Linked DNA regions of Homo sapiens: region 1 is linked to region 2. Evidence: promoter capture Hi-C in human tissues and cell types (Jung and others, 2019). All regions are on one chromosome and are shown on one strand. The core of a region is centred on a gene start or on the middle of the fragment in contact, and the rest is flanking DNA. Distances in the headings are between cores, read along the strand shown.

The links. The method cuts DNA at HindIII sites, captures the fragments that hold promoters and counts their contacts. A contact is called where the count stands out against the background at its distance.
Region 1: a contact is called between a fragment that was not itself captured here and the fragment with the promoter of INSM1 in region 2, in 1 of the 25 tissues and cell types used here (IMR-90 fibroblasts).

Annotation. Positions count from the first base shown.
Region 1 is chr20:19,694,399-19,697,400 of GRCh38, reverse strand. SLC24A3 (solute carrier family 24 member 3) reads right to left here. Exons shown (of 17, transcript NM_020689.4): 14 at 490-604. Among named protein-coding and RNA genes, the nearest start is that of RIN2, 62 kb to the left of the region's middle. The HindIII fragment of the contact is 5,354 bases long and covers 1-3,002 here.
Region 2 is chr20:20,366,682-20,369,521 of GRCh38, reverse strand. It overlaps INSM1 (INSM transcriptional repressor 1), which reads right to left and starts at 1,418. Exons shown (of 1, transcript NM_002196.3): 1 at 1-1,418. The coding sequence starts at 1,254. RefSeq lists an enhancer at 1,555-2,325. The HindIII fragment of the contact is 4,823 bases long and covers 1-2,840 here.

The sequences.
Region 1 (3,002 bases), core at 89-2,588, 670 kb after region 2:
GTGCTTATTTCACAGAGCTGTTGTTTAAATCAAATAAGATAGTGCATCTATCATGTTTTACTCAGTAAAGGTTAGCTGTCAGTACATTTCCTACTACTTTGAATAATAGGAGGATGGTGATACAGCCTCCAGAAGGGGCTATGGGTGCTACCTAGGAAATGTCTTTGCTTTCCTCAAGGGTAGGACCTTCTGGATTATTTCTCTGTTCTTCTGAGCCCAGGAAACCTTTCAACCAACACGGCATCACCCTCCCTCCTTCCAAACCCTGTTAATTACCAGGTGGGTCCCCCAGGTAGAGAGGCCCGCCTGCCCGCCTGACTTCCTCCCTTCCTTCCTTCTTTCCTTCACTCCCTCCCTCCCTCTTTCCTTCTCTTCTCCCTCCCTTTCTCTTCTCCCTCCTGCCTTCCTTCCCTCCCTCCCTCCCTCCCTTCTTCCCTCCCTCTCCTCCTCCCTCCCTCCCTCCTTCCCCATTGCCACTGGAAGTCCCACCTTGTCTGGCCACAATGAGGCTGGCCATGCAGTCAGGCACGCTGGTCCCAGCAGCCAGGAAGGTGATCCCCATGATGACGTCAGGAATCCCCAGGGTGTAACCAATGATTGTGACCTAGAAGGAGCAGGAAGAGGTGGTCAGCTGAGGGTCACCTCAAGCCCCACCTGCCCATGATTCTTCTGATGGAGACTCACAACAGGCTATGGTCTGGGCTATCTCTGTGGGGTGCAATGTCTGCTCTCTGTATCAATACAGAGGGTGACAAACACTATGTGGATGCCGACCGGGGCTGCAGGTCAGGGGACGGTGCTGTAATAGGACCCAAACTTTCCAACAAAACATTGGCCTTTTCACTTGTTCTCTTCCGGTGAGGCGGGTGGTTTGAGAAGAGAAAATAGAATTTCTGGGAAAAAGGCAATATTGGGACAGAATATTTGAACTACGGGTGGCCCTGAGGCATCCAGAATGGATGGATGCTTTGCTTGGAATTTGAGCGTCCATGTCAGGGAGGATGCACAATGGGAATTTAGAAGAACTGCAAAGGGGCTGGATTTGACAGTATCCATACTTGTTAGAAAAGGCATAACTCTAAGGTTGGGCACGGTGGCTCAGGCCTGTAATCCTATCACTCTGGGAGGCCAAGTTGAGAGGATTGCTTAAGTTCAAAAGTTCTAGACCAGCGTGAGCAACATAGTGAGACCTTGTCTCCACAAAAAATTTTAAAAATTAGCTGGGCATGGTGGTGTATGTCTGTGGTCCCAGCTCCTTGAGAGGCTGAGGCAGGAGGATGGCTTGAGCCCAGGAGGTTCAGGCTGCGATGAGCTGTGATAGTGCCATTGTACTCCAGCCTCGGCAACACAGTGAGACCCTGTCTCACAAAAAAAAAAAAAAAAAAGAAAAGGAAAAAAAGGGGAAAGCCATAACTAGCATTTCCTTTTCTCTATTCCTTGAAGCTTGGTAGCAATTTGCTGTCCTTGTCAACATCTTCTTCACTATAATAGCTTCTGGGGACCATCATCTTAAGTGAAACAGCTCAGACACAGAAAGTCAAACTCCACATGTTCTCACTCATAAGTGGGTGCTACGTAATGTGTACACTTGGACATGGGGTGTGGAATGATAGGCAATGGAGTCTTGGAAGGATTGGGGGCAGAAATGTTGTGTTTCTACATCTCAATTTCCTCCCTGGAGACTGAAAAACAGGAAGGCCAGAGGCCACCTCAGTTTAAATTCAGCACGGAATGAAGTGGGGTGGGTGACGAGAAATTACTTAATGGGTACGATGAACATTATTTCAGTCATGGATACACTAAAGTCAGGACTTCGTCACTTCCATCACACAATATATCCATGTAACAAATTTACTTGTACCGCTTAAATTTATGCAAATATAGAAAAAGCAAATGCAAGCATGCTTAAAAAAACAAAAGCAGTTGATGAGGCAGATGATGAGGGAGCTGGTGGCAAAAAAAGAGGTAAGTGGAAAAAGAGACACATTCCCTGCATGTGGGCCCAAGGAGAAGATAACTCACAAGAGTTGAAACTGTCAGGTCATTTTAGGATGCCACTGGATCTCCCTCACTTGCCATAAAATTACAGGAAATGCAAAGCACATGTTGTAAGGAGCACATTCTTCTCACAGTTCCTCCTGGGCCAGCCCTTGAGAGACACCTACACCCGGAACCCTGACTTCACTCCAAAGGCCACAATCGCTCCTTCCCTGTTCAAAGATTGGGGGGATGTGAGTGAAATCCATAGAGATGCTTGCCTTGCCTCCTTTCAGACAGAGAATGCAGCTCATTTCTGTTCAGTACTGAGCAGAACTGAACAGAATTTAACCTGGGGTGGCCACAGGGCTTTCTGACTTCCGGTCTCCAGGGAGGAAAGTGAGCTGCAGAAACACACGCTGTTTCTATTTTGTCGCTCTGGATCAAATGGAGCTACCAGCGTCCTGGCCAAACCTTGTTTTTCCTTTTTAACCCTCAGCTCAGTCCCTGTAGGAACCTGGTTTGGCTCAGCCAGTCTTGGCCTCTGGTTCATCATTTTCATGATCATGTTTGTGGCTGGGTCTGGAGTTCAGGGGAGCAGACTGCTCAGGTGGCTGGGACCAGGTCTCCGGCTTCTCCTAGTTTTCTCCCTACTCCTGGGCATTGATTGGGACTTATTAGAACCTCCACTGGAGGAAAAGGAAGCAAACAGAAGGAAGTTGAACCTCAGATGAGTCAGGTCAGTTAGCCCGCTGGTTAGGGGGCTGCACAGAAAATCATGTAGCACCTTAAGGTCAGGGACAGCCAACACTGTCCCCCAAATCCAGATAGGAGGTGGCTCTTGGTGCATATGTCAGATGAAAACATTAGTGAATGCAGGATGAGGGAGAAACCCCTGGCTATAAAACTTGGGTTTTAAAAAAATGTTTGTGATATTGAGGAAAGAGATGATTATGAATTAGTTGTGTCAGGTTTACAAATTTGCAACCCATGTAGCAAAATTTTTCTGGGTATTTTTGTTCTTA
Region 2 (2,840 bases), core at 169-2,668:
CGCCTTCTCGTCGGGCCCGGGGTACAAGGCCAGTAGGTCCTCGGCCGGGGGCGCTAGCGGCGCGCCCTTGGCCTGCAGCGCCTGGTGGTGCGCCAGCAGGTGCTTGCGTAGGTAGGCCTGGCGGCGGAACTTCTTGGCGCAGTGATGGCACTCGTAGAGCCCGTCCTCGGAGCCCGACTCGGACACGCCGCCGGGGCTCGGCGTGTCCCGGTCGCTGCCGCCGCCGGGTGCCTCCCGCGCCTCAGCCCTGGCTGCTGCTTCTGGCTCCGGCGCGCGGGCGGCGGCGGGCGCGGGCCGCGGTTTGTGCCAGCGGCGGTGCGAGGCCAGGTTGGCCGGGCAGCTGAAGACCTTGGCGCACTCGGGACAGCGGTACTCCACACGCACGATGCGCGAGCATTTGTGCTGCGCCAGCGCGAACGGGTCGGCGTACTCCTCCTTGCACAGCTGGCAGATGAACTCGCCCAGCGGCCGCGCCGCGCCCCCCGCGCGGCCCCGCGGCGCCTCCACCGGGCCCTCCTTGATCTTGAGCCCCAGCACGGGCGACGTGGTCACCTCGTCCTCGAAGTGCAGCTTGCGGATGGCCTTGGGCTTCTTGGCGCCCGGGGCCTTGACTGCCTTGGCGGGCGGCTCCGCGGCGGTAGGGGGCGGGGGCCGCTTTCCCGGGGGCCGCAGGGCGGCGGCAGGGGGCAGTGGGGGGCCGGGGCCCGGGCCGCGGGCCGCCTCGGCGCCAGCCGAGAACGCCGTGCCCATCTTGAGCTCGGCGGGCGCGAAGAGCAGCGGGTCGCCGCCGCAGGTGCCGCCTCCGCCAGCTCCGCTCGCGCCGCCGCCGCCGCCCCCTCCGAGCAGCGCGGCGGGCGTGGGGAAGGACTCGGCCGAGACCGGCGAGCCCAGGTTGAAGCTGCGTTCGAAGTACTTGTGCTTCTCGTGCTCGCGGCTCACGGGCCGCGTGGGACTGTAGAGCGGCGCGGGGTGCGCAGCCTCGGGGTTGCCGAAGTGCGCGGCCCGCGGGCCCTGCGGGGGTGGCTGCGGCCCAGGCGCGCAGGCAAGCGCGGCGGCGAGCGCTGCATGGGCGCGCTCCGCGGGCGGCGGCGGCGGCAGCGGCCCGGGGACCGGGCTCGGCGCCGGGGGCTCGGCGCGGGCGCCCCCGCAGCTGGGCGAGAGCAGCAGTGCGCGGTCGCCGTCCTCGCCGCCGCGGACCCGGTAGGAAACGGGCGTGGACTTCTTGCTGCGCTTCACCAGGAAGCCGCGGGGCATGTTGGCGCGGCCCGAGGGCACGGCACTGGCTCGGTCCCCCCTCCGCGCTCGGCCCCGGCGGCCCTCAGTGCCCCCGGCCCATTGCCCGGGCGCGGCGGCTGCGGGACTCGCGTGGCGCCGGCGACGGCTCGGCCCAGCTCTGCGCCCTGCACGCGCGTCCCTGTCCCCGGGCCCGGCAGCCGCTCCCTTTTAACGGGGGGAGGGGGCCATTGTTCTCGCCTCCCGCTTCCCCTGGAGCCAATCAGCGCGTCCGCAGCTCCTCAGCCTGGCAGGGTGGGAGGGCGATGGGGCGGCCAAAAGGGGGCCGGGACTCGGGGGTCGCCCGGTAGGTGCGGCAGATGTACCTGAGGGCGCGGGGCCCCCGCGCGCGCCCCTGGTCGCCCCGCCCGGCGCCGCCGCCCCGCCCGGTCCAGGCACACGCCCGGCCCCGCCTCCCTTCACGGTCTGCTGCTTCTCTATGGGGAGGCGCACGTGCCTGGGCTTTGTGTCTCTCCTCCGGGGGGCGCGGAGCCGCCAAATGGGCCCGTCCATCAGCGCGACAATGCACGCCCCCCTCCCGCGCGGGGATTACCCGCGGGTCGCTAGCAAAATAGCAACAAAGGAGAAGAATGGCCCCAAATATGTCAGGAGGGTTCAATCCGCGAGCCGGAGCCGAGGGGGAAGTTGTGCGCGCTGATTGGGTGGGGGCGGGGGCGCGCCGGGGCGGTGCGGGGGAGATCGTTGCGGAGGCGCAGTGGCTCCGCGTGGTGTTTGGGAAATAAACAAGAATCCGAGAGAGCAGCAGGGTCCGGACGGCCTCCGCCCGGACCTTGGACGGATGGGCCGCTGGACCCAAGAGGCCAAGCAAAAGGGTTCCCCGGGGTTCCAAGTGTGGACAGGGGGCCCGGCCTTCTGGCAGTGGCCGAGGGCGATGTTTGTGCTCGCAGCCTCCGCGCGCCCACGGGGCTAGAGAAGGTTTCTTTCGAGTTTGAGAAGGAATTGGCACGGCCTTCTCAGTCTCCCGAAAGCGCGGGATTGGAGCGCGGGCGGGCTGGGCTGGGTTCCCAGAGGAACGTGAATTTCTGAACTTTTGGGTTCTTGGAGGCTTGGGAATGGCATCTTTGGCGGGGCCCGACCCAGGCCGCCCGGAGCTTCCGCGTGGTCCAAGGCTCGGTTAATCCGGGTCGAGTTGGCCGAAGCCCGAAACGCGCGGTCGGCCTCGTGCGCCCCAGTGAAGTTGGCTTTCTCCTCCCCGCGCGGCCTCATGCATTTTCATTCCGAGCGGGCATTTTGTTTGCCGGTTGACATCAGATGCTAAATCAAGGGCTCCAATCAAGGCGCTGCGAAATAAAGGGGCTGCCTGTCTGGGCGCAGCCCCCACGGAGCCGTGCCCCCTTCACCTTTGTGAAGGAAATTAACCTCCTGCTATTGAGCTCCGGTCGCGGCCAATCTGGACGCAAAAGAGACGCGTGCTGGACGGGGGGAGGGGGGGCAATCTGTACTCTGAGGCAGGCTGAGGCCTCCGAGAGGACAAGCCGCCTCCCCTGTGCCACCAGGAAGAGACAACAGCGAAGATTCCCCCCGCCCCCACCCCCACCCCCACCTCC